Regions from separate parts of the Homo sapiens genome. Here region 1 is linked to region 2. The links are contacts of gene promoters, found by promoter capture Hi-C in blood cells and fetal thymus (Javierre and others, 2016). All regions are on one chromosome and are shown on one strand. Each heading gives the region's core, a stretch centred on a gene start or on the middle of the fragment in contact. The rest is flanking DNA. Distances are from core to core; before and after follow the strand shown.

What was found. The method cuts DNA at HindIII sites, captures the fragments that hold promoters and counts their contacts. A CHiCAGO score of 5 or more calls a contact.
Region 1: a fragment that was not itself captured here is called in contact with the fragment with the promoter of DONSON in region 2 in 1 of 17 cell types (total B cells); the score reaches 6.9 in total B cells.

Annotation. Positions count from the first base shown.
Region 1 is chr21:32,825,520-32,830,816 of GRCh38, reverse strand. No RefSeq gene overlaps it. Among named protein-coding and RNA genes, the nearest start is that of EPCIP, 14 kb to the right of the region's middle. The HindIII fragment of the contact is 3,431 bases long and covers 1,988-5,297 here.
Region 2 is chr21:33,586,771-33,591,829 of GRCh38, reverse strand. It overlaps DONSON (DNA replication fork stabilization factor DONSON), which reads left to right and starts at 3,146. Exons shown (of 10, transcript NM_017613.4): 1 at 3,146-3,509; 2 at 4,228-4,308. The coding sequence starts at 3,189. It overlaps CRYZL1 (crystallin zeta like 1), which reads left to right. Exons shown (of 13, transcript NM_145858.3): 12 at 623-668; 13 at 1,909-2,489. The coding sequence ends at 2,008. RefSeq lists an enhancer at 2,958-3,457 and a silencer at 2,916-3,605. The HindIII fragment of the contact is 12,197 bases long and covers 1-5,059 here.

The DNA.
Region 1 (5,297 bases), core at 2,454-4,953, 760 kb after region 2:
TTTTATGTTGACTATTAGTAATTTCATATGGTTTAACTTAATAAAACAGTAAAACTTTTGTGATAGAGCATGGGAAAATATTTTCATGAAACTGAAGTAGCCAAAGGTCTATTTAACCAACACAAAAAATGTGATAATCATAGAGAAAAAATAAGTAAATTAAAACACATTAATATTAAAAACTTTCGGCCAGGCGCAGCAGCTCATGCCTGTAATCCCAGCACTTTGGGAGGCCAAGGGAGGTGGATCACCTGAGGTCGGGAGTTTGAGACCATCCTGACCAACATGGAAAAACTCCATCTCTACTAAAAACACAAAATTAGCCGAGCATGATGGCGCACGCCTGTAATCCTAGCTACTCAGGAGGCTGAGGCAGGAGAATCACTTGAACCTGGGAGGCAGAGTTTGTGGTGAGCTGAGATCACTCCATTGCACTCCACCCCAGGCAACAAGAGTGAAACTCTGTCTCAAAAAATAAAAAAGATTAAAAACTTTTGTTCATCAAAAGACAGTGTTAAGAGTGAAAAGTTAAGCCACAGAGTGGGAGAATATATTTAAAATACATGTATTCAACAAAGGACTCATTCAGATTATATAACGAACTCCTACAAAGCGATTTGTATTAAATGTCAGACAACCCAAAAGAAAAAAATGGGCAGAATTATGAGCAATTATGTCACCACACAAAGAAGATAGCCTTCAAATAGTTATCAAGAAAATGTCACCTAGGACCACAATTGTGTACACAAGAATGACTAAAGGGAAGAAGACACTATCAAGTGTGGGCAAGAGTGAGGAACAACGGGGACCCTCATATACTACTGGTCGGGGTGTAAAATGGCCCACCCACCTTAGAAAACTGTCAGGCGACATCTACTAAAGCAGAAACATATGTGTAGTCTGTGACCCAGCAATTTCAATCTTGGATGTATACTCAACAGAAATGTATATACATGTTCACCAAAACACATTTAGGAGAATGTTCATGGCTTCACTATTTATAATAGTAAAAGAACTGGATACAACCCACATGCCCATCTATAGTAGAATGGGACTAGGTACAGTGGCTCACGCCTATAATCCCAGCACTTTAGGAGGCCAAGGCAGAAGGATCGCTTGAGCCCAGGAGTTCAAGATTAGCCTGGGCAACATAGTGAGATCCCACTCTACAAAATAATTTTTTTTTAAAGATGAAAAATTAGCTGGGCATGTTGGCATATTCTTGTAGTCCCAGCTACTCAGGAGGTTGAGGTGGTAGGAACCCTTAAGCCCAGAAGTTGGAGGATACAGTGAACCATGATTGTGCCACTGCACTCTAGCCTGGGTGACAGACCAAGATCCTGTCTCAAACATTAAAAAAAATAAAATTAAAATAGTAGAATGGGTAAATAAATTGTGTAATATCCACACTTAGAATAATATTCAACAGTCAGTGAGAGCGAATCATCTGTAACTGTCTAAGACTACTCAGGCCCTATAACAAAACATCACCTATTGGATGACTTATAAAAACAGACATTTATTCCTCATGGTTCTAAAGGCTGGAAGTTCAAGATCAAGGTGCCAGCAGATTTGATGTCTGGTGAGGGGCACTTTCTGGTTCATAGATGGTGCCTTCTTGCTGTGTCCTCACATGATGGAAGAGAGAAAACGCTGGTCTCTCAGCTTCTTCTAAGGGCACTAAGTCCCATTCCTGAAGGCTCTACCCTTATGACGTAATCGCCTTCCAAAGGCCCTGCTTTCTAATACCATCGTCTCAAGAGTTAGAATTTCAACCTGTGAATTTTCAGACCAAAGCAAGAATATAAAGCACTCAAAAACAACCTCAGATATATATATAGAGAGAGAAAGAGAGACATTTTATATTTGCATATCAATAAATAGAACTGGGAAAATTAGTTTTTCATATAAAAAGTTATACCTAAATCATGCCATACTCAAAATTAATTATAGATAGATTTAAAACTCCAATGTGAAAAGGAAAGCTTTAAAACTTTGGGAAGAAAATATCAAAAATATCTTTATAAATTCAGAATAGTGAAGGACTCTGGGGCCAGGCTATCTGGGTTCCAGTCTCAGCTCTATGACTTACTAGCTGTGTGAGCTTGGACAGTTTCTCCCTACTCTTTACTTTCCACGTATGAAAAATAAGGAGAATAATGGCACCTTCTCACAGGGTCATTGAGAGGATTAAATGAATAATATGCATAAACTGTTTAAAATACTGACTGACACTTATTAAGTGCTATATGGGTTTTTGTTGTTTTATGAGTAGTACTGGTAGTTGTTATAAGGGACAGATACTTTCCAGTTGGAAGATATATGTTTTTAAAAGTTCAGAAAGTCTAGTAATTAAGGGAAGAAATGGATAATCAATATTGAAAGATAGCAAAAAAGAAAAATATAATAAAGAAAGGACAAATTAAGAATTTGTGAGCCCCTCATGTAAAAAACCAGACTAATGTAAATAAGCTGAATTACTCTATTAATCATTTAATCTGTGTATGTCTCCCCCACTGACCCCCAAGCTGTCCCTAACCAAGAATACCATGGGATTGTGTTCTTGTCTGCTTTCTTCCTGCTGTACTTCCACATTCTGAAATGCATTCCACAGGCAGGTGCATCTTGGGTTTCCAATAAAAATCAACCGACCAAGGGGGCGGAATCTCCAGGCTTGAACCCTCAAATACAGACAGGATTATGTGTTCTTTTTCTATTGGGAGGCATAGTTTTCTGGTAGGATACTGGCAAATCAGAAACAGCAAAACAGAGTCTTCTCAGGAGTTCAATAGACTTTGCAGCAAGACTCTTTTATATGCTCAAAATTTAAAATCATTCATGCACTTCTTCATTTTTAAAAAATAGTCTTTTAAGTTTATAGTATTTTCTTATGTTTTTCCAATATTGAAAAACTGCAATGTACAGTATTCTTATTCTCCTGCCAAAACAAATAGCATATTATTGCAGCTGTAACATTTTATGTCTTTGCCACAATAACTGTGGTTTTCCGCAGTAATTTTGCTATTATGCTATGATTTTTATTAGAAAATGTATTACTGCCATCTTAATTTTCTTAGCCAGTTTAACACATTTATGGCTTTTCTGCTTTGGCAAAGTGGTATTTCAAATACTGAAGAATAACTTTTTTAAATTCTATAAATCCTGGATGAAATTTAAACCATAAATTTCATTTCTGAATAATCAAATCAGAACATTACTGCAACTGTGTCATCGCCTAAAGCCAGTAATATTCCATGAGTTTGTAATAACATTATTTTGAGCAAGTCACACAAGGGGTAGTTTAGTGATCTGAAATGTCCAGGGTTTGCTATTTTTTCCCCAATAGTCCTTTTTTTTTTTTCTAAGATGGAGTCTCACTCTGTTTCCCAGGCTGAAGTGCAGTGGCATGATCTCAGCTCACTGCAAACTTCGCCTCCCGGGTTCAAGCTATTCTCCTGCCTCAGCCTCCCAAGTAGCTGGGATTACAGGCTCCTGCCACCACACGCAGCTAATTTATGTATTTTTAGTAGAAGACGGGTTTTCACCATGTTGACCAGGCTGGTCTTGAACTCCTGACCTCATGATCTGCCCTCCTCAGCCTCCCAAAGTGCTGGGAGGCGCAAAGTGCAGGCGTGAGCCACCATGCCCAGCCTCTTCCCCAATATTCTTGAAGAGATTTATAACAACACCGAATCTCAGATTTGATGGCTACCTGTTGAGAGAAATCAAGGAATGAGGAAGAATTTGAATGAGGAATGCAGGTGGCCTTTCTCGCCATCCTTTTGCCTAGTGGCCCCCTTTTTCACCAAGACAAGAGGCTGGTTTTTGTTTCTGGTTTTATCACATCAGACTCTGGCTCATAGCAAAAGCAGTCAGTCTCCTGTTGCTGCTTCATGGATAGCGCCTCTAACAGGCATTAATTTTTTGTTGTTGTCGTTATGGAGGAGTGTCAGCATACACTCTAATAGAACAGTCTGGAAAGACAAGTGTTGTTGGTAAACCCTAGGGACGTGAGAATCAAGTGTCACCAGTAGGTGGAGGACTTGATCAGAAATACACATGCCTTGGGGCCTATACGGAGTTGCCTGCTCAGCTATGGTTTGAAGCAGAATCTGAGGGGATGCTCATGGTCCAGTTTGGCAAATATCAGGGTGTGGTTATTTAGATGAGGCACAAGACTAACTGGAAGTGTGGGACATAAGTGAAAGATGGCACCAGGAGGTTGAAACTGTCCCTTAAACTGAGTCCTACAGGCACCCTCCCTTGGGTGACGGAGCCCCAGTTATTCCTGTGCACCCTCATAGTCTTCTGAGCCAGGGCCCTCTCCCCAGCTAGGTGGCTGATGCCCCAGAACACACCGTATGTGAAACTGTCAGTGGATTCCAGGCACCCGTCCTTTAGTAGGCAGCTAGCAGATCCCCAGCTTAGCAGAAGGCACAGGTTTGGTGGAGACTCAGAAACTAAGCCCAGCAAGTTCCCTCATCAGTGGCTCTCCACCTGGATACATAAACAACTTTTACAATGGTTGTTTAAATAACAGAGCTAGTTCGTCGCCCAGATCTCCTGTGTGTCCTCTCCGTCTTTTTTTTTTTTTTTTTTTTTTTTTGAGACGGAGTCTCGCTCTGTTGCCCAGACTGGAGTGCAGTGGCACGATCTCGGCTCACTGCAAGCTCCGCCTCCCGGGTTCACGCCATTCTCCTGCCTCAGCCTCCCGAGTAGCTGGGACTATAGGCGCCCACCACCATGCCCAGCTAATTTTTTGTATTTTTATTAGAGACAGGGTTTCACCGTGTTAGTCAGGATGGTCTCGATCTCCTGACCTCGTGATCCGCCCGCCTCGGCCTCCCAAAGTGTTGGGATTACAGGCGTGAGCCACCGCGCCCAGCCTCCTCTCCCTCTTAGACATATATTTTGCACACTGAGCTATTTGCACAATCAGGATTAACAAGCAAATAGCTGATGGAGGAAGGGTGAATTGGCTCTCTCTGCTTCAGCTGGGACATCCGTCTTCTTCTGCCCTTGGACATCAGCTCTCCAGCTTCTCGGGTCTTTGGGCTCAGACTTAGACTCACATCATTGGTTCCTCTGGGTCTCAGGCTTTTGGGCTGGGACTGAAACTATACCACTGGCTTTCCTGGACCTTCAACTTCCAAATGGCAGATGGAGGGACTTCTCAGCCTCCACAATTATGTGAGCTAATCCCTCATAATAAATCCCTTTCTTTACATCTATATATAGCCTATCAGTTCTGTTTATCTAATACATTTCCTTTCTGATTTCTTCAATTACTTCTTCTT
Region 2 (5,059 bases), core at 1,897-4,396:
CATGCCACCATGCCTGGCTAATTTTTAATTTTTTTGTAGAGAGCCTTGTTTCCCAAGCTGCTGCACTATTTTCTATAAGGGACTTGAGTATCTGGAGATTTTGGTCTTCATGGGGGTCCTGGAACCAATCCCTCATGGATGCGTGAGGGATGACTGTATATCATACACACATAAAGTTTACTGGCTTCTGCAAACAAATTTTGAGCCCATTAACCAACCAGCCTGGTCAACGAATGTACATCTAAAGTAAGATATATACGTGCTAAAATTGTTTTTAACTAAAAATGCCATATGTAGTGTAGAAATGAAAACTAGACACTATTTCATTCGCATCCATTGAGATAATAGTGGTGAGCACTTAGGATAAGCACCAGGCTTGACTTGCTGCTCTTGTCACTTGTCCTTGGAAATTTAGGCTCTATTACACCACCAACTCTCAAATCATTTCCCTGTTGTAGAGCTAAACTTGACGTCCTACAGAATTTCTCTAACTTAACATGTTGAGTCTCTGAGAGTGCAAAACTTGAAACAAGAGAAAGTGGCCTGCCTGGCATCCTCTGCTTATTGAATGGTTTTATTTAATTCTCCTTTACATTGCCACCTTAACAATCCTTCCAGCTACGTATCTTAAAGGATGTGATGGAGAAGTTATCAACTGGTGTTTTCAGGTACGCTAAAGTAACCAAATCATTGTTCTTGTTTGTTTTTCTATTTTCAGGGAGCTAAGGCAGGCAGTCCCACTTTTGTTTTAGCTCTCGCCATGTACCTGTTGCCTCCATATTTTATTATTAGGTTGGTGCAAACATAATTGTGGTTTTTGCCATTGAAAGTAATGGCAAAAACTGCATTTACTTTTGCACTGATCTTATATTTCGTTTAAATAGCTGCTCTTTAATATTTATCAAAGTGTATCTGGTGGTACACCAGTAGGTACTCGCAGAGATAGAAGTGGCTTGTGAGTTTTCCTCACTCCATTATGTAGTGTACCTCACCCTTTGCTTTTCCTCATCACCCCTCCCAAAGCAACTTGAAGTAACCAATAGCTTGAAGGAGAGAAAACCATGGTATATTTGTTTAAAGTTGAATATGTTTATCAGTTATAAAAGAGGGAGTAGGCCAGGCGTGGTGGCTCACGCCTGTAATCCCAGCACTTTGGGAGGCTGAAGTGGGTGAATCACCTGAGATCAGGAGTTCGAGACCAGCCTGGCCAACATGGCAAAACACTGTCTCTACTAAAAAATAGAAAAATTCGCTGAGCGTGGTGGCGAACGCCCATAATCCCAGCTACTGGGAGGCTGGGGCAGGAGAATTGCTTGAACCTGGGAGGTGAAGGTTGCAGTGAGCCGAGATCACACCATTGCACTCCAGCCTGGGCAACAAGAGAAACTCCGTCTCAGAAAAAAAGAGGGAGTAAATAAAGTAGATAATTTTTTTCCTTCAAAACTTAACCACTTTTAACATTGGAAACACTAATGGACGAATTTGTTTGAATTACTTAAAGTAATAGATTTGAGGCCGGGTGCAGTGGCTCATGCCTGTAATCCCAGCACTTTGGGAGGCTAAGGTGGGTGGATCACTTGAGGCTAGGAGTTCAAGACCAGCCTGGCCAACATGGTGAAACCCATCTCTACTAAAAATACAAAAATTAGCCAGGCTTGATGGTGCATGCCTGTAATCCCAGCTACTCAGGAGGCTGAAGTATGAGAATTGCTTGAACCCGGGAGCCGGAGGTTGCAGTGAGCTGAGATCGTGCCACTGCACTCCAGCCTGGATGAGAGAGCCAGACTCTGTCTCAAAAAATTAATTAATACACTAATAGATTTGAGCACTAGCATTTGTCATATACCACCCTGTTTGTTCTACTTATCTTTAACTAGACCTGACATTTCTAATTTCATTCCTTCTCAGACCTCAGTTGGATGAACCCATTCCACTGTATGAGGCAAAAGTTTCCATGGAAGCTGTTCAGAAAAATCAAGGAAGAAAAAAGCAAGTTGTTCAATTTTAATTTTCTTCTTTCTCAGACCTCAGTCGGATGAACATATTCCAGTATTTGAAGCCAGAATTTTCTTTGGAAATTGTTGAGAAAAACCAAGGAAGATAAAACAAGTTGCATTTTTAAGCACGTTTCTCTGCTAAGACAAGATGCTCAGTTGACACATTTGAAAAGTGTTTGAAAAATTCTTGTGCAAATGATCAAGATAATTCTATAATTAACATCTTAAGGGAATTTTTCTAAAAACCTTTTCATTGTTTCTATATATTTTGCCCCTGCTATAAAATTCCTTCCATGAAGAAAACTGCTGCTTTCAGCAAAAGTCACACTACTCTTGATAAAAGCTGTTGCAGGCCTTTGCTAAGCTATCAAAGTAACGTATTAATTTTGTATCAACTCCGTTCTCAACACCTTCCTTAAGTCTTTGCTGTCATAATTTAAGCATTTGAGTATATTTTGAAGTCTTAAAAGACTTAGCCCATAGGCACTTAAATTTTGTGTTTTCAACTATTCATTCACTCCGGCTTTCCCCAGGATCAAAGAAGATCCCATTAACTTGCCAGTGGCAGCTGCCTGGAAGTCTGAGATGACCAGGCACTGGGAACGGGGAAGGGAGGGATGTCGGTAGGCTGCGCTGGCATAGGAAGCGTGCTGACGTCTTATCTGAGTTCTCTGGGGGTTGAGGAAGGTGGCCTAGTCCCCTCTCCTCGCCTCTTGAGAGCAGTAGCCACTGCCCTCTCTTAAGTTTATGGAAGCAGCAGCCCATCGCCGCAGCTCAAGTTTGTTTCCTTTTCATCCAGGCGCCAAACCCCGGGCTGATCACATCCCTGCTGCGGGCTTAAATAGAGTTAAGCTATTTCGGTGCCCCACAGGGTAGTGCACATCAGCGCCCTGGATCGCATACTTTCCAGAAGCGTCGCTGAACCTGGCGACTGGACTCTGGCCGAGGACCTGGCAGAAGCGCCAGGGCAGGGTCACCGCTGGGACAGTGGGCGTTGACGGCCACCCGGGATCGCCGCTGCGGGCTGCGTCTCGCGGGCTGCCCACTGCGCATGCTCCGCTCGGAACCGGCGGGGGCGGAGGCGGGGCCGCGTCGGGGGCGGGAGCTCGGCGAGGCGCCACGTCAGGGGCGGGCCCGGCGCGCGCGGGAAGTCTCTGTAGGGCGGCCGGCTACCCTCAGCCGCCGCGCGTCATGGCCCTTTCGGTGCCCGGCTACTCACCGGGCTTCCGAAAGCCGCCCGAGGTAGTGCGGCTCCGACGGAAAAGGGCCCGGAGCCGTGGAGCTGCCGCCTCCCCGCCCCGTGAGCTGACGGAGCCGGCGGCCCGCCGAGCCGCCCTGGTGGCGGGGCTGCCTCTTCGCCCTTTCCCTGCTGCGGGGGGCAGAGGCGGTGGCAGCGGCGGCGGCCCGGCCGCTGCTCGGAGGAACCCCTTCGCCCGCCTGGACAACCGACCGCGGGTCGCCGCGGAGCCCCCCGACGGGCCGGCCCGCGAGCAGCCGGAGGCCCCGGTCCCGGTGAGTGTCTTGTAGCCTGGCCGCCAAGGGGCTCTTGTCTTTCGTGGGTTGAGCCAGCTGTGAATGGGGGATGGAAAGTCCTCGCGTTCGAGGCAAGGAAATGGGCGCGAAGACTTCGGCCGCCCGTGGCCTTAGGGTACCCCGCCCTGGGAGCCGCGATTCTGGCAAGGCCGGGTTTGTGGGAAGAGCGCTCCCCTGGCTACCCCGCTGCGGGCTGTGCTCACGGGACGCGTTCCCGAGGAAAGTGAGGGGGCCCCAGAGGGCAGCGAGGAGCCCCTTGGAGAGGACTTAGAGGTGACTTGGAAAAGAGCTCGAAAAACCCTGAGAGCCCCCATCTTGCAAGGACGCTGTTCGATGGGGCAGGTGACAAGCCCTGCTTCCCCCGTGATTTAGGGCCTCCCTTCTCTCACGCACTCCAAATTATTCTGGAGATGGGGGAATGTCGAGGATTCGTGGGGTCAGAATTCACTAGCATCTGTCTTACCCAAAGCCTTTTGGATCTTTCGGTTTGAAACGCCGGTCCCTGTTCCCCTCAATTTTGATACTAAAGTTCAGACACAAAACTGAAGTGTTGAAACTCATAGATTGGATGGGGTGCCTCTGAATTTAGGTGTACTTGCGTTTATTGAGAAACATGTATGCCAGGTGAGGCTCTGTACATATTTAACGCAAACTTCAGCATCCTTTAAATTTTAAAGGAGAATATATTTAACCTCAGTTTTTAGATTCTAATCAAGAAAATGATTTGCTATGGGAAGAGAAGTTTCCTGAAAGAACAACTGTTACTGAATTACCTCAGGTAATACTTTTTAAATATCATTAGAATGTGTATTTGTATAAACTTTTTTTTCATAGGATTTGAGCCTATTTTTAAAAATACATTTATACTTCTCAGAAGCATTTTGCTTGGAAAGTAGTTTTACAGAGAGGCTTGATCATCTCAACCAGGGATGAAAATACCGCATCAGCCAAGGTAAAGGAGTTGGTTTGATACAGTAATGATGACTGTAAAGATAGCCAGCGCTAAAATAGGCCTGATAGACGTGGGGGTTTTCTTTTACTCTCTAACAGTTTTTACCACTCTTCTTTGGGCAGTTGACTTCTCCAGTTCATCACTCAGAGCCAGCCCTCCTGGCCCACCTCCACAGGTTGTGGCATAGCACTGAACCTCGTTGCTCCTCTCCCCTAACACACACACGTTTCCATTCCCCAACTACTACCATTGTGCTGTGTAGTTTGATAAATGCGGTTTGTCCTAATGGGAACAGGCTAGAAGAGTTCTCCAAGACCCAGTTTCTCTTGTAAATAAGTGACCTTCTTATGGTCTATCCAAGATAGTTCCCCCTTCTCTGATATTTTATTGTGATATAAAAGAATGCTTGGCCGGGCACAGTGGCTCATGTCTGTAATCCCAACACTTTGAGAGGCTGAAGCAGGCGGATCACACCTGAGGTCAGGAGTTCGCGAACAGCCTGGCCAATATGACGAAACCCCCGTCTCGACTAAAAATACAAAAAAATTAGCCAGGCGTGGTGGGGCACGCCTGTAGT